Linked DNA regions of Homo sapiens: regions 1, 2, 3, 4, 5 and 6 are each linked to region 7. The links are contacts of gene promoters, found by promoter capture Hi-C in blood cells and fetal thymus (Javierre and others, 2016). All regions are on one chromosome and are shown on one strand. Each heading gives the region's core, a stretch centred on a gene start or on the middle of the fragment in contact. The rest is flanking DNA. Distances are from core to core; before and after follow the strand shown.

Region 1 (3,536 bases), core at 905-3,404, 1.2 Mb after region 7:
CAGGTTGGGTGGTGCATTCAGCTGCAGCCACCACTGGCTCCGGAGCTCCCTGTGCCCCCATTGTTTATGTAATTGCATATACATGGCACTTGTCTGCAGTGACACTGAATCTGTGTCACTTGGTGGGTGATGGTGATGGCAGCATGGGCCCCTCCTTCTCCTGCCCCTCGTGCACCCTCCTGAGCTGGCTTTAGAGGACTCTGAAACTGACATGCCTCTCCACAATGCCCTGGTGATAGCGACTGCCATGGAGAAAGCCTGTGCCCACTGTCTCCACAAATGCCAGGTTCAGCCACAGCCCATTAATAGTAAGGAAATGAAGCCAGCAGCCACACATTGTTTCTATCCCCAAACCCACACTCTGTGTCAAACCCACAATAGCTATTGCTATGCTAGGTCAGCTCTGCGGGACACCAGGAATTTAACCATCATGTCTCCTGAAAGTCTTCAATTAATATGTCTAATTATTACCAAGCACTACATTGAAATTAGTAGAAGAAAACATGACCAGAGGTTGGATTTTGTTTGACTAGGTTTAAACTACTTTGGCTTTTACATATGACTGAAAGCAAATAAGCTAAAATTTAGTAAGATATTTAGTATACCTCTCCTAGTCAGCTGGTAGAAAACCATTTGCGAATTCAGTGTTTGCTGTTAGTATTGGGACAGACTTCATGGAAACCAGTGATCGACCACACCAAATTCTATGGGATGAATGATCACATATGAAAGGGAACACCAGTGTTGAAAAGACACAGATTTTATCCTTGCCATGATTTGGTAACATGTTCAAACACAAAGAGAAGGCTCACAAGGAACACACCAAACAGCTAGGCTTATTCCTCATTCATTCAACGGGCACCTTGGAACACCTACTCAGTATCTGACACTTACTTTCTTGGGGAATGCAGAAGTGGGGGAAAAAAAACAAAAATCCCCTCACCTGTGAAGCCGATTTTACAGTGGGGGCAACAGATAACAAATCACTCAGTAAAGTGCATGGGGCCTAGAAAGTGGGTGCTATGGGAGAATCCAGTGGGGTAAATGGGAAGGAAGAGATGGGTGTGTGGAAAGAAGGTGGAAAGGACAGGAGCCAGGCTGATGGCTGGTGGGGACGTTCTCAGCAGAGGAAGCCAAGAGGGCAAAGGGCAAAGGGCAAAGGCTGTGAAGCAGAGAGGTCAGCATGGCTGAAACAGAGTGAGCAAGGGGTGCGAAGGAGGGTTGGAGAGTCACCCTGGGTGGGAGCAGATGGGGGGACTTTAGCTTTTACCCTGGAATGGGGTTTTGAACAGGGGAGTGAACTCTAAAATTCACATTACAAAAGGCCACACTGGCATGGCTGGGAGAAGAGGGTGGCAAGGGAGGTGCGGAGAAAGCAGCAGGGAGGCCTTTGCCATCGCCCCAAAAAAGATGGTCTTGCTGGATCCATGTGGAGGTGGTGGAGGCTCTAAGGAGTGGCCAGAATCCGGATCTGTGCTGAAAGGCGAGGCTCTAAATTTGCTCTTAGGCTGGCTGTGAGTGTGGAAGAGGAGACGCATAGCCTATCATTCCAACATTTCACCCTGAGACACTGCAAGGATAAAAAACGTAAAAAAAAAAAAAAAAAAAAAAAACAAAAAAAACAAATAACAAAAAAAAACCCAAAGAAGCAAATATTTAATACAAAAACTCAGTCTGCAACCAAAATACCAAGATAGGCTTTGGTCTCCAGAAACCTCTCTGGAGGGCACGGAGTTGTCACTGTGTGATTTCCTTGAGGAGATGGAATGAAGATATCATCCACCAGAAGTCAATTCCGTGTTGGCTGGGGGTAGCCAGGAGGCTGGAGGCCTTAGGAGAGCCTGACCAACTGGACAGATCCCCAGGGGTGGTAGTGCTGCCCTTCTAACCTAGGAAATTAGCTCCAAGGCAAGAAGCTAGCTCACATAATGGCTTGACTGCTGAATTCACCCTAATTGTTTTATCTATTAATTGCTTAATTAACTTGTTAAATGGGAATAAATGTGTGGTTAGTTTGCAAAAAGTGTTTTGTACTTCTTGGTTACCTCTTCCCATTGACTTCCTCACACTGGGAGCAATTGCATGTAATAATTGCTAGTTGGCTCAAGTACAACAAAAACATTGCAGGAACTTCAAGTAAGGTGAGAACTGAGCATTCAGCTCTGTATTTTGCAGTGTGGCCATCAATAGTAACCTTGAAATGGGCAGTTTTGGTTGAGTGGAGGGCATGGACACTCAATTGGAGTAGAATGAGGAGAAAACAGGAGTAGGTTGGGTAGAGGTGGAGGAGGGTACAGGGTGAGGCCTGTAGTGAACCCAAGGGGCCCCTGTGGTAGTCATGGGCAAAAGAAGTTAACACTGCCAAATCTTTAGACTTTTTTCTGAAGTTACAAACTTCTCATAAAAAATAGGTTTTTATGATAAATGAGTTGGTCATAAATCAAAATTTTTTTAACAGTATGGCCAGTGGCCTCAGGACCAACATTGCCACTGAGACTTCACTTCTCCAGGATCAACTCACCTCACCCACTAGGTATCATGGACGTCTTCACTTCCAACATTCCTGAAGAGGATTCGCCTCAATAGTCTTACCAGAAAATGGGCATGGTGCTATGACCTGGCCTCCCCAGTTCATCTACAGCAGGATTTCTGTCTTTGCTCCAATACTGAAAATTTCCATTAACACAACCTTTGCTTATTTCAGCTTATATCATTTAGATTTCTGTTTAGCCAAATCTATCCTGCCCTGCATGTGTACAACTAATTTTTTTTAAATTTTGGTGTGGGGGACTTTTTCTGCAACTATTAAATTATGTTAAGATAAGAGGTGGTAAGGATGTGGGCTGCTTTGAATCCAGATGATAGAAGTTTCCCTGTTTTGTTTGCTAATGACAAGGTCTCGGGGGTGGGCAGCATGAGTGGCTGCAGTGAGTGGAGGGCAAGGCTTTGTTATGGAGGCGCGAAGGAGCTGCGAGGCTAGGGCACTGGACAGAGCCTCTGCGTGGTCTTCCATGTGGAGGACTGGATGGTCAGGGAAGCTGAAACCTCCAAGGAATAAAGGAAAACGGCCACAGGGGTCTATACCCAACTGTCTAAAGAGGGGCAGCAGGTGGTATGGCTCACGTCATGAGCCTCGGGGCTGGGATTTTAAGGAGGGAGAGTGGTGTGGAAGTGGCAATGAGGAGAGAGAAGAGCCATTGCACCCCAAGTTCAGGCCACATGCTAAGAGGCCTGCAGGGGAGACACATTCAGCACAAGAAGCTGCAGAGGAGCAACGTGCTCAGGAGGAGGTGGGAGGAGAGGGGCGCAGACTTCACCTCTAGGACAGCCCCTAGGACCAAGGGGACCCGGTCCTGTGTGTGTCTGCACATGCACTTCTTACACTCTCTGGAGTTGTTTTCCTCACCTCCTCAGCAGGCATGGAGTGTGTGTCTCGTGGTTTCCACGTGGGGGCAAAGGAGGAGCATCTATGCATGGGTCCAGCCCAGTGCCTGGGCTCTGAGGGAAGGCTGCCCACATTTGAACATGCATTTAAA
Region 2 (3,597 bases), core at 961-3,460, 1.2 Mb after region 7:
TCATCTTCGTGAAACCTGATCAGTGCATTTATGGGTCTGTCTCTGATATTTTATAATATCTACCTGAATTTCTATTTATCTTTTAACTTTTTTTTTCAGTTGATACATATTAGCTGTACGTATTTATCTGTTAACTGATTTTATGGAGTAATGATATTTGTGATTTATTGAGCATCTTAGAGAACTGTGTGTTTACATTCATTCTCCTTTGGTTAATTTCACTTCTGATGTATGTTTTTATTTGATTTTGCGTTCATTGTTTTTTTTGTTGTTGTTGTTTGCAATATGTATGCACAGATCATTTCAGCTTGTTTCTCGTTGCTGAACAGGGACAGAGGAAGCACGGTGGTATGGAGAGAGGGCGAGAGGGGTGGGCTAGGAGCTCACTCTACCTGGTCTTTTTCATTCGTGTGTGGGAAGACAAACATCAGTATACAAACACCTGCCTGGGAGTCAGCAGTGCCATTTCCACCAGCTTACCCACCTTGGGGAGTGCATCGCTCCTCAATTTGCCAATATAGACACTGATAAGGCCTCAAGCTTGTTAGTTTCATGTTCTGTCCTTTTTCCCCTTCAATCATCTCCGTGGGCAGGGAGGTGAAGTCTGAATCCACAGCAGTGGCATTCTGCTATAGTTCTTCCTCTTTTTGTTCTTTTGTGTAAAATTGGGTCTTTAAAATATATTATCTTACTTTTCCAGGGCCCTCTAAGCCCCTAGATCATGTCCCTGTAAGTAAAGAACTTTTGGACATGTCTTAGGTTAGAGGCTCATACATTTGGGAAAATGTGGAACCTGCACAAGATTCAAGAAACAAAAGGCAATTAGAAATTTCAGGCAAAGCAAAATATTTTCAAGAACATTATGGTTCAAATATGAAGCAAACTAAGATGTTGTCTGCTGGGCAGTGGGGGTATAACTTGATTTTTCTCCTAGAAATATCTGCCTGTGTTGTCCCAGGCCACGATTCTGGGCTTGGAGAAGGAAATGTAAGTCAACCACAGTACTTGGCTATGGGGTAAACCACACTTACTTTGCCATATTTTATTGAGTATGTTTATTAGTTTTGAACTTTTAAATCACCTATGGTACAGAATATAAAATAGATGTTATCTTCCCTAACAAAGATCCAATTGATAGAGGTTTGGGAGTGGGTGCAGAAATAGAGATGAATCCAAAGATACTTTATAAATTGATAGAAACATAAATCTATATTTAATGATATTACTTGTATTTACACAGTAACTAATGGAAGGCCTGCCTACAATTGGGAAGAGGTGGAAAAGAGAGAATAAAATGATTTAGGTGAGCTAATTTTTTTAAATTTTAAATCAGAAATTTACCAGATGATGTCTGAAAATTATTTTAGAACGAACGAAAAAGCGTAATGGGCACATTAGTTAGTGCTGTGGTGGTAGCCACCAGAAGGCAGAACAAGTTGCAAGTCTGGGGGAAGGCACAAGGGTGCACAAGAGGCTGTGTTTTCATGGTGCACCTGGGTACCTTTTTATTTTTATTTATCGTATGTGCATATTATATTGATAATCATTATGAATTTTACTATTACTTATTGTATAAAAGTATTCCTATTTCCACTCTACTTCTCACATGTCTTAATAGGTAGGCTCTATGATCCCAAACATGATACAGTCATGTAACTATCCGGCTCCATCAGATCTAATTCTGTAGCAGTAATACCAAATTCCCTCCGTCTCTAATCCCTCTCTAGCTGAAAATAGGCACATTGACCCTTCACATCCTGGAAAGAAGGTGATAAGCATCACTGGTCTGAATCCCTATAGGGAAAACTAATAAAAATGAGAACAACAGTTTCTGCTTGTATGACGGCTTCCCAGAATGATTAATGAGAAGGAGAAGCTGCTCCACCTTTGTACTTCTAAAAGTCAAGAGCCATCCCCACAGCTGGGTTGACAGTGAGGGTAATTTTGCTTTACTTTTATGCAGGCCTAGTGCCTGCAGCTATGTGATGTTTTAAAAGTACCTCACATGATATCTGAAAAGATGCATGCATGCTACTTGTGTACCATAAATAATAAATTACAGCAGTATCACAAGTGCTGTGACACAGTGGTTATCTCTGCTGCAACTCAGCCAGAGTGGGGGCAGTTCTGCATGTAAGCATAGGAGTGTGATTAATCCCTTCCCCTCTCTTTTCATGGCTAATTTTTTATTCTATTTAATAATGCAGTACACTAGGTCCCATGATGGAGTGTCCTGTGTGTTTTATGCCTAGAGAGCCAAGAAGCACTTGTTGGGCACAGAAGCAGTCCTGGAATACTGCTAGGACACCTAAGATTCTAGTCCTGGGACAAGACTCATCTGGGGCCATATTTCTTCAATCACTGCATTGCAAATGTCTCTTGCGATAATAAAATACGGCAGCAGTTTATTGGTGCTTTATTGAGAGGTCTATGAGCCTCCCGCTTGAATCTGGGCAGACCATAAAGAGTCACTGCAAGGACAGGCAGAATGGAAGGGCATTGTGTGACTTCCATCAGCAGGTAAAGGGCATAAACTTTCTACCTGGTTCTCCTGGGATGGTCATGCCAAGGGAACCTGGATGCCCAATCAAAAATGTAACTCCTCTAAGGTCCCCATGCTGGAGAGGCTGAGGGGGACATCAGCTGAGCAAGTTCTTGGACCTCCAGCGCAAGTGTCTCAGCTGAGGGCAGCTCCAGCCAAGGCTGATTGCAACAAGCATGAGAAATCCAACCAAGAATTGCTTAGACCTTCCTAAACACCTGACCTGCAAAAATTATGAGCTGAATTAATGGTGTTTTAAGGCACTAAGTTTTGGTATGTAAAGATAGTCAGCAAATACCTCTCAGCCCCTACAAGAATTGCCTGGACCCCTCATTAGTATCATTTCTTACATAACCTTGACTTCCTTGAGGTCTATGGGGTGACTCAAAGAGGTAACCCAAATGAAAGAAACTTGTGCACCAAAATTATAAGATATCATCACAAATATTTCAGAGAAAAACACTACAAAAAAAGCAAGTTATCTGTATTATAATTATTGAATTTTTCAAATAGCAAATTTAAGAATACTCTTGGTTTGATGCCAAGTTAACAATCGGCCTAGTGGGGAAAGATGGAAGGTGCACCTGTCATTGGCACTGTGGACAAATAAGTCATCTTTCTTGCCCTTCTCTCCTTCCTCCCTCCCTCGTCCTCTTCCTCTTTCTTTTTCTGCTCCTGTTGCTCTTGGTCCCCTTGTCTCCTTCTTGCTCTCAGTCTTGCTTCTTCCTGGGAGTATCAGTCTTCAGGCCCCATTTTCCTGTGGCCTCAATATTTCTCCAGGGGACCAAGCAGGTGAGCTGGGCACCTTTGCTGGTGGAATTGGCCTGTGCTGAGACAGGTGAGAAGAAAGGAAGAAGAGGACACCTAGGCCCCCGCCTGGTAATATCATGAGCGGTTCCTCTCCTGAGGAGCAGCTTCTGTTGGGATCATTATCTAAGCAATTAGGGGTTTCCACTCAATTTGCAGGCTCGCTGATTGTTATGCATGTCTCAAAGCATCAGGCAGTAGAGGAACTAATCAGCACTTAATTGCTGAAAATAAAATCCAGAGAATAA
Region 3 (3,383 bases), core at 47-2,546, 1.8 Mb after region 7:
TTTTATTTCCTAAATTATATTTAATGGAGGCTTGCTGAATACTGCCTCCTTTTGCTGTAGGCACGGATTATGGGTGGTTGTGTATGCTTTTTGTTGATCTATAAGGTTTTTGGAGGATGTGTGGATATATTTATCTAAGCAGCCACCATGATTTTTTGGGAATCACATGTCTCATCAGTATTTTCTGAAGACTGAAATTCAGCTTAAATTTTTATAAAGACTGAAATTCAATTTAAAAACTGCTCTTGGTAAATCAGGTTGTATGTAACAGTCATTTCTGAATTAATCTAGCAGTTACCATTATCTTTCTTAAGTATTTAAATATGTTTGTTTTGTTTTATAAATAGGTCCAGTGTATACCTATTTCTTCTCTATAAAGATGACTACTCCCCATATAAAGTTGAGGCATTAGAAAACTATTGTCAAAATAAAGTCTAACTAGTTTTCTTTGTTATACTTGTTCTCATAAGCTTTATTTCAGGAAATTGTGCTTAAACACAAATACTTTGGTCACAGGCCTTAAATGTCTCTGATTATTTTCTCTGTTTGAGAATCTATGATTTTTGTCCTTAATTAAGCAGAAGTAAACTGAAAAGTTCTTAGAAAATTGATTCCAAAAGCTCAAGGCCACTGAGACAGCGCTCCCCTTACTGGTACAGTGCTAGCTGGCTTGGTGGAATTTTTCTTTCTCTCCAAGGCCAAGACAGGCCTGGCTGCTCCAGGGAACTGGAGGCTGGTAAATAAATGATACTGTTCATTTGTAGGTGGTCTGACTCAAGCCCATGCCCTGGGCCTTTCCACCATACCTTGGGCTTCTGCATTACCGATTTATAAAAGAACAGTGAAACATTTAAATGCTGCCTTTTGCTGTAAGAATTCAAATTAGCATTCTGGAGAGTATCTCCCTCCTACCTTTTTAAAAAAATAGTTTTTAATTGACACATTGTATTGCATATATTGATGGGGTACAGTTTGATTTTTTGATATACGTCTGTGTTGTATAATGATCAAATCAGGATAGTTAGCATACTCATCACCTCATACATTTATCATTTCTTTGTGTTGAGAACATGTAAAAATATCTCTTCCAGTTGTTTTGTGTCCTTCTGGGGCCTCTGCATCTCCTCCACGGAAGAAATCTCTACTTTTGCATCACATAAAAGATTTGTACTGTTTTAAAATATATTAAGCACTGAAATAAAGTAATCTTGGAAGGGTTAAGTTTACCTAGGAAAGCCCCAAGTTTTTAGAATCTGTGGAGTTTCCAGAAGTGAAGCATCAGGTGGAAATAAATTGTTTATAGAGCCTATAATATCACAGAGTAGTTGTGTATGGCAGAGGCACGTTCAGACAGATTTTGAATTTTCCTCTCTTCTGGATTCTTTCTACATTTGCTTATTATTTTGAGGCATACATGGGAAACCTTAAAAAATGAATGTGGACAGTTTGTTCCATCCAGACACTAAGCATCAGCCTTGTTATTGTGGCCTGTGTGCTAGGCCCTGTGCTGCTTCCTCTTCCCCAGAGCATCAGTCTAGTGGCTAAGGAGATACTGCTGGTAAATAATGAGAAGAAGGAGGTACCATGCTTTGTGGGGATCCCCCCAGGCTCCCCACACTGGGCAAGTCCCTTTTCAGTCTTTTGGGGTGGCTTGACACACCCCTTCATGGCATCCTGATGTTAGAGCTGAATTTTGCCTCTGGTTCTACATGCTTATCTTCATAGTACTGTCACTGTCACTTTTTGTGGTATTTCTACTCTAATATCTTGTGATTTTAGAGGCAACTTTATTTCTATCTCAGGAGTTGTCAGCCTTTTTCTTTGAGGTACATCTCATGATGTGTGTGTCATTAGTTCTCACAATTCTACGATGTCTCCTTCCTCCCACCCACAGTTTTAAAATAGTACGGACTATAGTTGTCATAGTTTTACAATGCTCTGCAATAGTTATTATTCAGGATGGGGGAAATCAAGATTTTAGATTATTTGAAGATGAATTGGTTTTCACAGCTCTGCTGTTCACTGGCTCCTGGTGGGACATTTGTGGCTTTGACAATGTTTCCTCAGGGGAACATGGGGAATTGATAGGCTTTTTCTCAGACCCTTCTGGCCGTGAAGCTTGATATTCTTTCCTCAGTGTCGTGACCTCCTTGTGGGCAAGAAGTTTATTTCCTTAGTGTTTTCTGGCACATATGGATCTCAGTAAATATTTCCTGAATAAGTACGGTCAAGAAGAAGAGAGTCTGCCTTGCCTCTGGAATGCAAGGGTGGTTCACCTGGGCCAGCCAGGTGGCAGTGGTTTTTGTGCTAGCTGGGCAGTGTTTTCTTTCACGGTGGGGAAAATGTTTTCTTCTTCCAAGTCAGATTCCTGTAATACAAAAAAATAGTTAATTTAGCTCAGTTTAGCTTCTTAATGTCAATTGAGTGCTAAGTGTTTAACTTATGTTGCTGCGTAATATGGATTCCCCACAGAATATTTTTTCCAAGGATCTTCTGCCTCACTGTGAGACCTCTGGATAACAGTTGTTACTTTGAATGCAAATTCTGAATACTTGTCCATAAAATTTACAAAAAATTAACTTTCACATAAAACAAAATAAGCATCCGGTGTAATTTCAAAAGTACCTTTTTTCAGGAAGTTTTAAAGTTATGGTCAGTTTATGACAAATGGGTTTTTAAAGTGAGGCTACCTCTGGCAATTCTGTTTCAGGAGACATGAGGATCTCATGGTTTAGCAAAGTTCAAAGGTCACTGAACTTGAAGTCAAGTGTCAGGTACACTACTGACCTTGGCTGGGTAGCCTTGGATAAGCCATTGTCCTCTAGATGCCATTTTCTCTTCAGTAAAATAGAGATAGTGTCTTTCATGGTTGTAATAATGAAAATGACATAACATATATGGAAATATCTAGCATAAAACCTGGAATAATGTAGGAACTCTGTTAATTCTAGCTGTATCCTGTCTCTGAAAATAAGTGGATAAAGTACATTTTAATTAAGCTAGTTTTATTTAGAAACCTTTAATAAGAATGATTGAACTATAATTACAGTTCAAGATTCCCAGTACTCTTTAGAAAAACAAGACCCAAGAAAGTAGCAAGACTTTACGCCAAGGGAGGTATGGCTAAGGTTGAGAATGTTTTCATGTGAGGAATTTTCCATTTAGGAAACTTATTAGCTGTTTTTCTTTTTTTTTAATGTGTAGATTTGAAGTGGAGGGAAAGGGACATGAAGGTGTGAGAGAAAGCTGTAGCTTATTCTGACACTTCATTTTTGGTATGGCTTGTTGCCATTCTATCTTTCACTGTGTAACATAGTCCCCAAAGGTTTTTGTTTGTTTTTTTGATTTTTTTTGTGTGTGTTGGGGAGGAGGTTTTATTGAGA
Region 4 (3,763 bases), core at 856-3,355, 1.6 Mb after region 7:
GGGGAGGAAGGAGAGGGTCCCGGGGCCACAGAGTGGAGGAAGGGTGGCCACCACTGCAGAATAAGAGAGCACAGATGGCAGAGAATGGGTGAGGGCCAAAGGGAAAGTAGAGGGAGGAGAGGCCCACAGTGCCTAAGAAGATCAAATCCTGAAGTGAGGAGTTCGAGACCAGCCTGGCCAACATGGTGAAACCCTGTCTCTAAAATACAAAAATTAGTCGGGTGTGGTGGCAAGCACCTGTTGTCCCAGCTACTTAGGAGGCTGAGGTAGGAGAATCACTTGAACCTGGAAGGTTGCAGTGAGTTGAGATCACCCCATGGCACTCCAGTCTGGGCAGCACAGTGAGACTCCATCTCAAAAAAGATCAAGTTCTCCCTCACCATAGTGCTGGAGGAGCAGCAGCCCTTGGAGTTCAGCTCAGCAGCATGGTCACCATAGGGAGGCAGGGCCTGGGCCTGGGTCGTGTGTGGGGGCCTTGGACTGGCCCAGAGTCAGCTACTGGCTCGCCCCTTCAGGGGCTCCTTCCTGACTCCCCTCCAGGGCTGAGATGCCCAGGCACAAGCTGCCACCAGCCCTCTGAAGGACACAGATCTCAGGCTTCTGACTTTGAACTGTTGCCTGGACCCACTTCCAGCCACCAGCCAGCACAGTTAAAGCCTGTAGACTTTGACAGCTAAAACGGAAGGCTGCCATTTTCCATAAGACCTTCAGGTCTTAAAAAGAGGTGTCCTAACAAAACATGCCCAGAATACCTTATATCTTGCTCAGGAAAAAGGAAGTGCACAAAATATTTTGTAGACAGGGATATACCACCACCTCCCTTGAAGCCCAGTGTTTTGGGACTCTGTGTTAGGAAGGAAGAGCCTTCCCTAACAGCCTGCTGCAGGCTGAATCAAAGAACACATTTAAAAGCCTGGAAGCAACCACAGAACAATAACATACTTGAATGGAGTCATCAGTAGACACTAAAACCACTGGGGGGAGTGACTGGTGCACAGGGTATTTTATAATGTCTCCAAGCATCTCCCCATAGGTCACTTATTAACAATAAGTATGGAGAAACTTATGGAGAAACCTGCAGACACTGCCTTAAATAATAATCAACATCAAGTCACCAGTAACAGGACAAACTCACATCCTGGGCCTCCTGATGTGATGCACTGAGGAGGACACAGCCTCACCCAGGCAAAGCTTCTGTCAAAAGAGTTGGCCTCAAGTCTAATCATCAAGAAACAAAAAGACTCAAATTTATAAGGTTATAAATTATGTAAAATATTATTATAAAAACAACTGTTCTGTATTCCTCAAAAATTGTCAATGACATGGAGGACAAAAACAGGACAACTGTTGTTCCCATGCACGTTCATTAAAGCAACATGATACAAAATGCAAAGTGAGATCCTGGATTTGATCCAGGAGCAGATGGGAAAATGTTGGAATGGATATCTTGGGGATAACTGGATAAATTTTTAAAAGAACTACTATTAGATAATTGTGTATTGGTGTTAAATCTCCTAAATCTGATAATTACGTGACAACAAGTACCAAAAAGCCTTTTCTTCAGAAGAACTTCTTTCTTTTTTATTCTTTTTTTTTTGGGGGGGGGGCGGGGTGGAGTTTCGCTCTTTGTTGCCCAGGCTGGAGTGCAATGGCTCGATCTCGGCTCACTGCAAACTCTGCCTCCTGGGTTCAAGCGATTATCCTGCCTCAGCCTCCTGAGTAGCTGGGATTACAGGTGCCTGCCACTACACCTGGCTAATTTTTTGTATTTTTAGTAGAAATGGGGTTTCACCTTGTTGGCCAGGCTGGTCTTGAACCCCTGACCTCAGGTGATCCATCCACCTTGGCCTCCCAATGTACTGGGATTACAGGCGTGAGCCACTGCACCAAGCTAGAACTTCTTTCTTAGGCAGAAGTATTTAGGGGTAAAAAGCCATAATATCTACAACTTACCCTCTAATACGTATATGTGTGTGTGTGTATATATATGTATATATATATATGTAAAAATATTTATAATATATGTATGTATATATAAAATAGAGAGAAGCAAATGCTAAAGTTGGCATATGGATGTGTATCACTCAGGGTTCAACCTCTCTCTTACGAGGTCTGTAAGTTGGTATATGGTATTAATCTTAAATTAATACCATATACCAACTTACAGACCTCGTAAGAGAGATATATTAAGAGATATACTGGCATATTTCATTTTATTATCCTTTGCTGACATTGCATTTTTTACAAATTGGAAGTTTGTGGCAACCCAGAGAGGAGCAAGTCTATTGGCACCATTTTTCCAAGAGCATGTACTCACTTTATGTGTCTGTGTTACACCTTTGTAATTCTCACAATATTTCAAACATTTTTATCATGATTATATCTGCTATGATGATCTGTGATCAATGATGTTTGATGTTACTATTGTAATTGTTTTGGGGTGCCATGAGCAGCACCCACATAAGACTGCAAACTTAATCTATGTGTGCTGACTGCTCCACTAACCAACCATTCTCCCATCTCTCTCCCTCTCCTCGGGCCTCTCTATTCCCTGAGACACAACAATATTAAAATTGGGCCAATTAGGCTGGGCACAGTGGTTCATGCCTTTAATCATAGCACTTTGGGAGGCCAAGGCGGGCAGATCACTTGAGGTCAGGAGTTCAACACCAGCCTGGCCAACATGGTGAAACCACATCTCTATTAAAAATACAAAAATTAGCCTGGCGTGGTGGCACACACCTGTAATTCCAGTTGCTTGGGAGGCTGAGACAGGAGAATTTCTTGTGCCTGGGAGGCAGAGGTTGCAGGAGTGGAGATCAAGCCATTGCACTCCAGCCTGGGTGACAGAGTGAGACTCCATCTCTGGAAAAAAAAGAAAAAAAGAAAGAAAGAAAAAAAAATAGGCCAATTCATAACCCTACATTGGCCTCTAAGTGTTTAAGTGAAAGGAAGAGTTGCACCATCTCTTCCACCATCTCTCACTTTAAACGAAAATCTAGAACTGATTTAAGCTTTGCAAGGAAGGCATGTTGAAAGCCAAGACAGGCCAAAAGCTATGTCTCTTGTGCCAAAGAGCCTAGTTATGAATAAAAAGCAAAAATTCTTGAAAGCAATTAAAGACGTTACTCCAGTGAACCTGCAAATAGCAAGAAAGTGAAATAGGCCTGGTGCAATGGCTCACACCTGTAATCCCAGCACTTTGGGAGGCTGAGGCAGGAGGATCACTTAAGCCCAGGAGTTCAAGACCAGGCTGGACAACAAAGTGAGACTTTGTCTCTACAAAAAATAAAAACAATTAGCCAGATGCAGTGATGTGCATCTGTAGTCCCAGCAACCCATGAAGCTAAAGCAATAGGATTGAGCTCAGAAGTTCAAGGTTGCAGTGAACTATGATTGCATCACTGCACTCCAGCCTGGGTGACAAAACAAGACCCTGTCTCAAAAAAAAGTGAAATAACCTTATTGCTGATATGGAGAAAGTATGAATGGTCTGAATAGAAGATCAAACCAACCACAGCATTCCCTTTAGCCAAAGCCTAATTTAGAACAAGAACCTAACTCTCTTCTATGAAGGCTGGAAGAGGTTATAAAGCTGCAGAAGTTTGAAGCTAGCAGAGATTGGCTTATGACATTTAAGAAAGGAAGCCATCTCCATAACGTAAAAGTGCAAGGTGAAGCAGCAAGTGCTGATGTAGAAGCTGCAGCAAGCTATCCAGAAGATCTAGCTAAGATCATTGATGAAGTTGCCTACACTAAACAA
Region 5 (3,703 bases), core at 942-3,441, 1.4 Mb after region 7:
ATGGCTTTTCTAGGGGTGCTGGATTCACAGTGGGGTGCAATGGTCACTGGGCCTTGGGTAAAAAGGTCCCCTGTCCTCATACTGAACATGAGCACCCATGAGTAATATTGTTCCCGCTGTCGGGTTCCTGCTGATGCAGCCCCAGCCATGGCGGAGCCCCAGGATTATAGCAGGTCTGGGCTGATCCTGGCCGACCCTCACCTCCACCACTCCCAGGAGAGTCCTCTGGGTGTCCTGCTAAGGCCCAGGGTTTCCTGGTGTTTCTGGCCAAGCCTGCCACCTCGCCATAAGGGCATTTGCCGCAGGATCACCTTCAGGCATGGAGGGGGGGTTGAGAGAACAAAGGGAGCAGCTGTCTGTTCAGAGCCTCCTTCCACCCTCCCTACTCCTGAAGTCACATTCCAGTCCAGGCCCACAGCATCCCGAGCTGGGGGCTTTGTCAGCCCACAGGGCACCCAACTGACCACATCCTCTCAGTCTGTGGAGAAGGAGAACTCTCAATCCTGGCAATGAAGCCACGCTGAGCAAAGGACGAAGACACACCTGGGCTCTCTCTGCAGGATTCCATTCCTGGGAAGCTCAAGGACAGGCAACAAAGGAGTCCACAGGACCAGATGTGGGCTGCCAGGGTCGGGTGGGCATGAGGGTGGGCTTCAGAGGCAGGAGGAAACCATCTGGGGTGAGGCAGATATCACAGGTGTGGACAAAGTGGTAACACAAGTGTATGCATTTATGAAATCCCCCAGATTGGGCACATACAATTAGGCATTTTATTGTGTGTAAATTCTACCTCATTCAATGTAATTTTTAAAATATTACATGAGTTTTCCAAGCAGTGTACAGAGGACCAGTGCTGGCAGCACGTCTCCCAGAGGGGAGGAGCAAGAGAGGCTCTTGGGCTCCCACATTCATCCTGTGGCTGCTGCTCCTTCTCCTGACACCCCCACCACCTGCCAGGGGTCTCCCTGCGCCTTCCACCTGGACACACCCACAGTTACCGTGAGACTCCAGGTCGTTCCCTTCCCTGCTCACACCCCCTCCAGGAGCTTCCTCTTCCTGGAGCAGGCATGCCCAGCCTTGCCTCAGGGCCTTTGCACTGACTATTCCCTGCTGCCTGGGGCTTCTCAACCTTTCCGGTCTCTTAGAGACTTCCCTGACCAGGGTCCAGTAGCACCCACCCTCTCTCTAACTGAGCGACTATAATTCCCTGATCTAAATTGTTGATCACCACTCTGCATCCTCCCACACACCCTAATGGCTGGGCTATGCAGTACCACAGCCACCAGCAGCCACTCGTGGCCACAGGGCACTTGAAATGGGGCTAGTCCACAGTGACGCTTGGTCTAACTGTAAAAAATACACAGGGAACTTCAAGACATTACACTCACACAAAAGAATGTAAACTAGCTCCTTAAGAATAGTCCTGAAGTGTTGAAGTATTTTGGATATATTAGGTTAAAGTAGAAATACCAAAATTACTTTCAGCTGTATCTTTTAACTTTTTCAAATGTGTTTTAAATTGCTCCTGGGTTTCTGTCACATCTCTGTTGGATGGCAGCTCTGCAAGTTCATGTCTACGGCTCTATTGCCCAGACTGCTTGGTGCAGGGGGAAGCTGGTGACAGGTTTGTTTATTGAATAATGAGGAGTTATGAAACGAGAACCCAGTGAACTTTACCCAAAGGTTAATTACTTTATGTTTGGCAAAGAAGTTCCCCAGAAGAGGGCATGGACAAGGTCATCCCGGAGCTTCTGAAACAGCTCCCTGCCCCAGGAATTCCCAGACCATGACCACGTGCTCCTGGATGCCCCTGACATCTGAAGACTTTAGAAGGCCAAGCCCTGTATTTCTCCCTTTCCTGTGGACATAGGTGGTCACCAGGTTTCACAGCCCAGGGAGCGGTGTCACCTCTCTGGAATCCAGAGTGAGCCAAGCTTTAGAGCACTGAGGAAGAGGGGCAGGGCTGTGGGGAGGTTGCGGTCAGGACAGGAGTGGGGAGGAGGATGAGGAGGAGGCATGGGAGGAGCGAAGGGAACTTAGGGAGGGAGGGAGGTGGTTGGGGGTGGAAAGGGAGATAGAGACAGAAGAGGAGGGGTAGAAAGAGGAGGAGGAGCCAGGGGCGGGGCCAGGGAGCAGGTGGGGTTGGGGGACACCCAAGTAGGATAAATGCACAGCTAGCTTCTGGCCTGGGCTTCCTGCCTCAGCCTTCTGCTGCTTTGCTCTCTGGGAGATCCAGCTCCTTGCTCTGTGTCCCAGTAGAACATGATGTGGCCCATGCACACCCCACTGCTGCTGCTGACTGCCTTGATGGTGGCCGTGGCCGGGAGTGCCTCGGCCCAATCTAGGACCTTGGCAGGTGGCATCCATGCCACAGACCTCAATGACAAGAGTGTGCAGTGTGCCCTGGACTTTGCCATCAGCGAGTACAACAAGGTCATTAATAAGGATGAGTACTACAGCCGCCCTCTGCAGGTGATGGCTGCCTACCAGCAGGTGCGTGCTACCACCACCCTGGGGGTCCTGAGTCCCAGCTGGGTTTTTTGCCTCACCCCCCAGAGCACTCCCAGCAAATCAACATTATCTAAACCGCAGACTCATTCAGCTTTCTCTGACTGTCTGCTGATGGTCTTCATGCCCTAGGACACTCCTTGGCCGTGAGTGCATGAGTTCAGCCCTGTCCTGTCCCCTCGGCCTCTTTTAACCTGCAGCAGCCACTGTGTCTGTACCATGACTGTGGCATTTCCCAGGGTCCAGCAGGTGTGGATGGAGACTGTGCTGACTCTGGGTGGGCTTGATGCTGCTCAGGATGAGATCCAGGCCACGAGGTTCATCTTCCTCCCTGAGTCCTCTCCACAGGGGCCACACGGGAACCTGACTCCTTGTCCTGGATAGCCCCGCTTCCCTCCCAAGTCACGCCCCTGGGCACAGCCCGTTATGGCTAGTGGCCTTCACTCTCAGGCTGGCTGACCACCCCCTACAGCCCAGGACAGCTGAGTTCCTGCTGGGGTAGAGCATGCCTGACCCTGCCTCTGCCAGCTAACGCAGAGTTAGACCTCAGCAAAATGAGGACAGCAATCACCCAGCAGAGTGAAGGAGGTGGTTGGGTCCAGAGGGAGGAAGCTTCAGCAGGGCTACCGAGCCCAGCTTGACCTACGTCCCATGGCAGAGCAGCAGTGACACAGCGACCACAGGGCTATATGGCCTGCCAGCCTTTAGAGCTCCTCCACCTTCTCTTGGAAAGTCAGAGGAGTCCAGACCAGCCCTGTTTCTCCTCCTGCAGCCCTCTCCCTGCACAGGAGGGGCATTCCCTGGTGCTGTGGTCCCTGCTGGCCTGCACTCCCTCTTAAGTGTGTCACTCACTGGGAGTGAAGCACAGAATGATGTAGATCGTTGGGCCCTGGAGCCTATTTTACAGAGCAGCAGACTGACACCGGAGGGATCACAGGACTTCCATGTGGTTCTACAGGACTTGTGTGTGGTTCCACAGGGCAAGGTCTAGCACCCTGGTCCCAGGGTCCCTCATCCCATGCTTCTCCACAGTTCTGACAAGTCATGTTTTGGGGCGGCACTGTGCAGGGAAAGCATTCAGTTCTCTTCTGAAGTTGCAACCCTAAGACATGCAGGTGTGTGACTCACTTTAGAAATATTGCCTTGAAAATCACACCTGGAATGGAGGCATGCAGGAGGCAATGTTTATTGGCCT
Region 6 (3,831 bases), core at 90-2,589, 1.9 Mb after region 7:
TCAAGATTTATAGAATGTTACTTATGAACAAAATATAATTATTTATGGTACAATTCTTGTACTTTAGCAAATCTGGAGTTAGTTCATAGTCAAAGTCAGTTAATATTTCTTAGAGGAAAGTTTTGCTTTTTGTGGCAACATTTTTATAGCTTGTGTGAGTTCTTTTTTATTTAATGATTTGAAAGCAGTATTTTTGCACAGTCGTGACCGTGTGTGGTGGCGTCACTGTAACCAAAGTATATGCACCAGCCCTTGTGCATTTATTGTTTCTCCTGATTTTGTGGATTTAAATGTCCAAATGCAAACCTTTGTGACTTCCTTTGGAGGACTTGGCAGCACAGCATGCCCCCGTGACCTGCCTGCTGTGGTATGAGCTATGACCAAGAGCAGGCTTCCTGCTCCATGGAGTCCTGAGTTGCTCTGGGGCAGGGGATTACGTTATGAAAACTAACCATGTGTAACAATAAATCTACCTTAGCAGAAAAAGTATGCTTGTTTTATTTTAACCTATAAAGTGGAAATTATCAGTAATATTTTGATGAGTCTTGTTGCTAAATTGGCATAGGTCAAAAGTAGCTTCCATTGTTTCAAGTTGTTCCCGTTAAGATTAAGGCAACAGACGTTAATACTCTCTAGGCTCCGGTCATTTGTTGGGAATTCCAGGGCACCGTAATGGTTTTGCAGACTGAGGGTTTAGAAGGAAACCCTGGTAACTTCTGTTGATGCAGTCCACTAAAGTACATGATAACCCTGCAGACCCCACATTCTCATCCCTTCCTTGAATCCTTTAGGGTCTACAGTTACTTGCAAAGTTGAGGAAGGCATGGTTGCTGGAAGACTGGTGGGGAGGTGAGGCACCCCTAAGCCTGACACTCTCCTACCCCAAGAAAGTACCACTCAACTATCTGGTCAGTGTGGGCATTTATTTTAATTTTGCAAAATATCTGCACAGGGAGAGGAGATGCCCCTGGGGAAGGGTCAGTCCCACTGACCACTGGGGCCTGAAGTTCTGATGAGGAAGAGGACCCATGGCGGGTAGTGCAGACCGGCTCATCCTACCATCCTATCATAGAGCCTTGATTTCAGGTCCTAAAGTATATTCACAACACTTCAGGTAAGTCAAAGCAAAATGTTTTAAATGGTAGAACAAGCTGTCCTCATCTAGGCATTCTGAGTTGTTGATCATTCAAAGCCTAAATCAAGTGGCTCTTCTCAGAATCAATTTCCTAATGAAGATGCCACCATGGTAGTTTAAAAGCTTAGTTTTGTCAGCCTTAGTTAAGAGTCCACGTACGGATTGCCAAAGGTATGCAGATGATTTTCTGAGTCTCATTTAGCATGATGTGATAGATCAGGGGTCCCCAACCCGTTAGAAACTGGGCCTTACGGCAGGAGGTGAGCTGCAGGCAGTGAAGCTTCATCTGTATTTGCAGTCACTCCCCGTGGCTCACATTACCACCTGAGCTGTGCACCCTGTCAGATCAGCAGTGTCATTAGAGTCTCATAGGAGTGCAAACCCTATTGAACTGCGCGTGCACGGGATCTAGGTTGTACGCTTTTTATGAGAATCTAATGCCTAATGATCTGTTGCTGTCTTCCATCACCCCCAGATGGGACTGTCAAGTTGCAGGAAAACAAGCTCAGGGCTCCCACTATACATTATGGTGCATTGTATAATTACTTCATTGTATATTACAATGCAATAATAATAGAAAGTGCACAATAAATGCAATGCGCTTGAATCATCCTGAAACCATTCTGTCCCCCCACCTGTGGGAAAATTGTCTTCCACAAAAGTGGTCCCTGGTGCCAAAAAGGTTGGGGACTGCTGTGCTAGATGATCCTCTGACCTGTGTGCCTTTCTCAGTCACATCAAATGAAATATTGTTACTCCTGAGTACATGAATATCATGACATTTGGTTAAATTGACAAGTACCCATCTTGTTTCCCAAAAATGAACTCCTTGGAGGGACAAGGTTTATTTAACAGGTTAAAAATTAAATTATACACTCAAATTTACTTGTTTGGATAATCACCTACAGCAAAATCACATTTCTGTAAAAATCACCTTAAATAAAGGTCTCCACCACATGGCCCATTTTTTCCAAACGACAGCAAAGAATTTGGTAAAACGAAAGGCTGCACATCCCTTTGGAGTTTGGGCTGACAGCATTTCACAGAAAATGGTTGGAAAATGGTTGAAGCAAGCTCCTAAATGGCCCTTCTTGAGGCTCTGGGAGAGGCACTGTGCCGGCACCTGGCCACTTTCCTCATTACACACTTGGGACCAATCCACTCAGATGGTGGCCTCGCTTCCACTCAGCATGGCTGTGCTTGGACTTGGAGGAATGGGGCAGATGCTCCAGGAGGTCCTCTGTAACCAGTCCCCTACAGGGTTACGTTTCTCTGTTCTCAGGGACAGAGAAATGTATATAGTAGAAGTCGTATCTTTGATGCCTACTTTTTACATTGAAGAAAGTGGCAGAGAGCTCAACCGCACTTCCAGCCCGGTTGTGGCCTGCGCATGAGCAGAGGCCAGGATTTCTCCTCTCCAGGATCCCACTGCCAGAGACCAACTGGGATCCAAGCAGTTAAACAGCTTAATCCTAGGACTGTATGAAATAAAGGCTTATGGACCCGGATTTTACATTTCATTATTCACGTAATTAAGCAAATTATATGTTTCAATTAAGAATCATATTTCTGCAGAACCTAAATTATAACAGAAATAGATCTTTAAAAAATTGCAAAACTGCTTTTACAAAGCAGACATTTATTAACAACATTTTTTTGTAGAATTTCTAAGGAAACAAATTCAAGACAAAAATCCCTCCAGTAGGTAACAAAATGATCTATTGTTTCAATTCCTTCTGATCAAGTGACTTTATTCCATAAAACAGTACATCAGCTGGGCAGGTTCGGTCTCCTCTGGATGTATGACAGTCATTATTTATTTGTGCTGTAAACATAACTAGGATACAGTGACACTGTCATAACTAAATTTGAAGTAAATTAGTACTGTGACCTCCAAGGGCAGGTGTGAAGCATGTTATCAGCGCCTGAAACACCTTGTAGTGGTTTCACTAACATAAGTTAAAACATAAGCACTTAGGAAGAAAGTCTTCCCTCATTAATTTCTGGCATAGTGCAGCTACATGTTCATTCTGGAACTTAAAGTACCTTCCTCTTAGAAAATCAAAGTGTTTTCACAGCAAGTTTAATAAATTAAAAATGTAGAGAAAAAAGGAACTAGTGAACAAAAGAATTCTCCAAGGTTCCCTTTTTAAATTAATGTTTAAATGTTACATGTGAATCATAGCATTTCACAAGCACGTGGCACATACTCAAGGCCCTAGAACCAAATGTCAACGTTTAACAAATACAGCAGAATCGTCTTTTCATTGTGAATTTTTAAAAGCAATAATTAAGTCCTGCATGAAACAGCCAAAGAAGCATTTGGGACAAAGTTACTGGTTCTTCACAATCAACTCTTTAAGGCATAATCGGAGGTAAGTGTGCTGAGACTTTTGGTCCCTACTGCTATGTTCTCACATGCTCCCAAGGAAATAGACATGTCAGTTACTTGCCTGTTTCCATCTCTAGGTGTGGAAATGAGAAGTCTGGGTTTCTGGAAATTACAGAAATCAAGTCAGAAAAACCTGGCAAAAGTAATAATACTCTGTGTTCTATAATTTGCCACAGTCACCTCATTTTGCAAATAAAATGACTACACAACTTTCAAGTACTCTAAAGCGTCTTAATTTTTCATGCCTCTGCAAAAAAATACTATATTGTTTTGCTAGACTCTTTGGTAGGACAGCTTTTACCTA
Region 7 (3,693 bases), core at 200-2,699:
CAAGTGCTCACTGCCTAGATGTACACTGCAAGTAAAATCTTTGCCAAGTGGCTTCAGGTCTGGAAGTGTGTCTTTTCCTCACCAGTTCTCCCTCTACGTTAGTGTAGTAGAAAGACAATTCTCCATGGTCAAGAGTTTAAAAGCAAACGACAACAACAAAAAACTGGCAACAGGGGGCTGTGCAAGACTACCATGTACCTATCAAACTGAAAACTACCATCCTATCCATTGACCTGCAAAGCTGTTTATCAGTGAAAAAGTTACAAATGTTTACGAATGAAACAGAAAATCTAAAAAACTGTATGTGCATTATACTTTTTAAAAATGTGTATGTATATTTAGGAATACCAAAAACACAGCAAGAACACAGGCCCATAGTAAACATGGTTAAGAGTAACGGGGACAATCAGTGACTTTGTTTCACTACTCAAACAAATTTTTGCAAGATATAAAAAGTAACAATTAGTAAGATGATCTCTGTCAACTTCAACCCAAGCAAATTTCTCCAAGGGAGGTGTGGGAACCTCTAAGACAGAGCCTTCTTCGAGGGCTCCATCTCCATCTCTGAGCTTCGTACCCCTCCCTGCGTGAAGCAGGCATCTTCAGTGATTTTCTTCTAAGCAGCGTACACAAAAAAAAGTCTCACAATTCCCTGCAGATTACCGAGCTCACCCCATTCCAACCCACAAGGCTGCCCAGGCCTGGTTCCAGTCCCATTTTCTCCCACAGGCTGCTGCAGGAAAACAAAGAGTGGCTGGAGGCAGGGGCGGGGAGCACCGGCTCTGCAGCCAGCGCGGAAGCGCACGGCCAGAAAGAGACCGGGAACGTCCGCCAGGCTCCCGGGCTCAGCATCATCTGCGGGGGACGGCGGACCCCGCCAGGCGCGGGCTCCCAGTGGGGCGGACCCGTGGCCGCGGCCCTGCGCAGGGGACGCCCGGGCCCCGCCGACTGCGGCTTCCAGGCGACTCCCCAGTCGGCTGTGCCTGGCCGCCGGCCGGCTAGGGGCGCAGGTAACGCCCGACGGGCCGCCCCGCAGAGACCCCCGCTGGCGCGGCTCCGGGACCGGCGCCCTCTCAGCGGGCACGGGCGCACAGGGCGGGGCAGCGCCTCACCTTGGGGTCGCGCTCGTAGTAGTGCTGCTGCGTGCGGATCCAGCGGCCCACGAGGTGGTCGCGCACCGTGTGCGCCAGCGCGAAGAAGTAGTCGCGGGGCGTGGCCACATTGCGGTCCTTGACCAGCGTGAAGTGCAAGTGCCGGTTGAAGCTCTTCCGCACCTCGGCCACGTCGCCTAGCCCCGCCAGGCCGCGCACGCTGATCTGCTTCCGCTTCTCGCTGTCCGTCAGCGGCTTCGCCATCGCGCCGGCGGAGGCGGAGGAAAAGAGATGGAGGAGGAAAGCGGCGGCACACGCGAACGCCGGGATGGTGCAGCTGCTCTGGCGCCGCTGCTCTGGCGCCCGGCACTGCGGCTCTGCGGGCGGGATGGACCGCGCCTGCGCGCCGCGCCGGGGCGGGGCCTCGGGGGGCGGGGCGGGGCCTCGGGAGGGCGGGGCGGGCGTCCAGGCTCATAGCTGAGATCTCTGGTGTAGTCCGAGGCGGCAGCGACCTGTCCACGCCACCTGAGCGTGGTGTTTGCCCCCTCGTTGGGCAAGCCCGGCAGAAAGTGGGAGCGACTGGAGGGGGCAAGGGACCCGGGGCCTCGGAGCGTGCCGTCGTGGCCGCTCCTGCCAGCCCGGGGACGGTGCGGGAAGGGGGCCCTGCCCTCCGGCCCTCGGGTTCCTGGGACCGGCCCTCCCGCCCTGCACCGGGTCACCAGGTGCCCCGCGGGAGCGCGCTGGGCTCGGGCTGTGGCCGAGACCTGGTACACGTTCGGGGAAACTGATTACAGCTTGAAAGGCATCCACCAACGCCTGCTGGGCCCGGTCTTCTCTGTCCGGGGCAGGGCGGCTCTGAAAATACCAGCTATTTGCTTGCCACTCCAGGCCGATGACAGACGTGGAGAAAACCAGCTGCCAGCGAGCTGGAGACGCCCGTTCCCGAGGGCGCGAGGCAGCCACAGCCAAATGCCACCACGACCCCGCCTCGGAGGGACCGCAGCCCCCTAGCCCTCGGAGAAACCCTGTTCCCGAAACCACCTGGCAGACGCTGTCCGCTTTGAGATTACAGCAGGGAGAAGGAAACATGCCCGTCTGGCCGGGGAGCTCAGCCACTAACCGAGACTTAGCCTCTGTCATCCCAATCCAGGCTGCAGCTCCAGATAGGGGGCGTCTGCACACAGCTTCCCACACTTGGCCCCGCGGAACACAGTCCTGCTGGCCTCAGCCTGTGGGAACCCTGCTTCATGTAAAGGTCACCTAAACTCTGCCTTCCCTCAACCCCTTCAAACTCTGCCTTTCCCTTCGTTCTTGGGAGGCGCTCCCTCATTGCAGTGGGTCAGTACACCCGATTTTGTGGACCACAGGTTTGCTCCTGGTGGTCTTGGGCTGAAGGGGCTGCAAAGGTTACTGAATTTCGTGGAGGTAAAAATTGCCCGCAGGAAATGTCATGAAAGTCCAGGTGCAGTAGGTTTCCTGGTGTGATGCTTCAAAGTTATCTTCTTACCTGGAGCCCCTTCCAGCTGCAGACTTCAGAGGTCGGAGGTTAATCAATCTGGAATGACCCCACAGCCCACCCAGCTCCAGCTCGGGATTCACTCCTGCACTATGTCCTAGGGATTCTGGAGCCAACAAGATCGAACTTCGGGCACAGATGGCAGGGCTGTGGGGTCGAGCTTGGCTGCAAGCTCCGAACACTGATGCAATCTCTCTGAGGGTGATCTGGCAATTCAGAAGTCATAAAAATGATAGTGCCCTATGACCACTTCTACCACTCTGGGGAATTGAGTTCAAGGAAAGCTTAAGAAGACAAAAAGCAAGTTATGCAAATATGTTATCTGCTGTGGTGTGGTAAAGTTTAATCCCCCAGCTGTGGTGCACACCTGGCAAAGAATGGAGGCGCTGACACTTATTGATCATTACTTGCAGTGTACACGTATTAACTCCTGATCCCTGCAAATAGCCTGCTATTACCCCCGCTTGACAATGGAGAAGGTGAGCCACAGAGAAGTTAACTCTTCCCTAAGCCCACACAGCTAATAAGGGAAACAGCCAAGGTTCACCCCAGCCAAGCCCTGCTCCACTGCACAAGCCCAGAAAAATGTATCTGTGCTCAAAGTTAATATCATAAACCATTGTGCTGCTAAAAGGAATGACTGTTTTAATAGCTAGCTAGGAAGGTGTGATTGATGACACAATACTGATAAATGAAACACAAAAATAAGGATGTAATGCAGAAATGACAGTAATGATTTGAATATTACTTTCATTTAGTCAATTTAAATTTAAATTAAATAACCACATGTGGCTAGGGACTACTGTGTTAGAAACACAGGTGTATATCCAAACCTAAACACTGGTTATTTCTGAATGGAAGAATTATCAGGGGGGTTATCTTATTTTCTCCATACATTTTGTATTTCCTGTTTTTTCCACAATATTTCTTTTGTAAGTGGAGTAAGTTTTAGTAAGAAAAACTAGAGGCCACAGACTTCACTAATGGATGCTGATTTAAGGCCTATATATTCTCTTACTGGATTGACTTTTAATTCTTTGTTACTCTGGTTAAATAAATTTTAAGTCCTTTCTTTCATAGCTACAC

The links. The method cuts DNA at HindIII sites, captures the fragments that hold promoters and counts their contacts. A CHiCAGO score of 5 or more calls a contact.
Region 1: a fragment that was not itself captured here is called in contact with the fragment with the promoter of PYGB in region 7 in 1 of 17 cell types (naive CD4 T cells); the score reaches 6.7 in naive CD4 T cells.
Region 2: a contact is called between a fragment that was not itself captured here and the fragment with the promoter of PYGB in region 7, in 4 of 17 cell types (naive CD4 T cells, naive CD8 T cells, total CD8 T cells and 1 more). The highest score is 8.1, in naive CD4 T cells.
Region 3: a fragment that was not itself captured here is called in contact with the fragment with the promoter of PYGB in region 7 in 1 of 17 cell types (total B cells); the score reaches 5.4 in total B cells.
Region 4: a contact is called between a fragment that was not itself captured here and the fragment with the promoter of PYGB in region 7, in 1 of 17 cell types (M0 macrophages). The highest score is 7.2, in M0 macrophages.
Region 5: the fragment with the promoter of CST5 here is called in contact with the fragment with the promoter of PYGB in region 7 in 4 of 17 cell types (fetal thymus, activated CD4 T cells, total CD4 T cells and 1 more); the score reaches 9.6 in fetal thymus.
Region 6: a fragment that was not itself captured here is called in contact with the fragment with the promoter of PYGB in region 7 in 1 of 17 cell types (total B cells); the score reaches 12.6 in total B cells.

The regions. Positions count from the first base shown.
Region 1 is chr20:24,039,669-24,043,204 of GRCh38, reverse strand. No RefSeq gene overlaps it. Among named protein-coding and RNA genes, the nearest start is that of GGTLC1, 53 kb to the right of the region's middle. The HindIII fragment of the contact is 7,127 bases long and covers 1-3,536 here.
Region 2 is chr20:24,022,903-24,026,499 of GRCh38, reverse strand. No RefSeq gene overlaps it. Among named protein-coding and RNA genes, the nearest start is that of GGTLC1, 36 kb to the right of the region's middle. The HindIII fragment of the contact is 3,336 bases long and covers 543-3,597 here.
Region 3 is chr20:23,406,452-23,409,834 of GRCh38, reverse strand. The region is part of intron 1 of NAPB (NSF attachment protein beta); the gene reads left to right. Among named protein-coding and RNA genes, the nearest start is that of NAPB, 13 kb to the left of the region's middle. RefSeq lists enhancers at 1,428-1,487, 1,628-1,687. The HindIII fragment of the contact is 1,648 bases long and covers 473-2,120 here.
Region 4 is chr20:23,649,791-23,653,553 of GRCh38, reverse strand. No RefSeq gene overlaps it. Among named protein-coding and RNA genes, the nearest start is that of CST3, 14 kb to the right of the region's middle. The HindIII fragment of the contact is 1,823 bases long and covers 1,194-3,016 here.
Region 5 is chr20:23,878,236-23,881,938 of GRCh38, reverse strand. CST5 (cystatin D) reads left to right here and starts at 2,191. Exons shown (of 3, transcript NM_001900.5): 1 at 2,191-2,493. The coding sequence starts at 2,263. RefSeq lists an enhancer at 1,869-2,698. The HindIII fragment of the contact is 1,186 bases long and covers 1,937-3,122 here.
Region 6 is chr20:23,371,177-23,375,007 of GRCh38, reverse strand. It overlaps GZF1 (GDNF inducible zinc finger protein 1), which reads right to left. Exons shown (of 6, transcript NM_022482.5): 6 at 1,946-3,831. NAPB (NSF attachment protein beta) reads left to right here. Exons shown (of 11, transcript NM_022080.3): 11 at 1-486. Among named protein-coding and RNA genes, the nearest start is that of GZF1, 11 kb to the right of the region's middle. The HindIII fragment of the contact is 157 bases long and covers 1,261-1,417 here.
Region 7 is chr20:25,245,841-25,249,533 of GRCh38, reverse strand. It overlaps PYGB (glycogen phosphorylase B), which reads right to left and starts at 1,449. Exons shown (of 20, transcript NM_002862.4): 1 at 1,113-1,449. The coding sequence starts at 1,355. RefSeq lists silencers at 806-1,185, 1,496-1,685, 1,696-1,885, 2,066-2,145, 2,164-2,417 and an enhancer at 1,336-1,415. The HindIII fragment of the contact is 3,937 bases long and covers 1-2,893 here.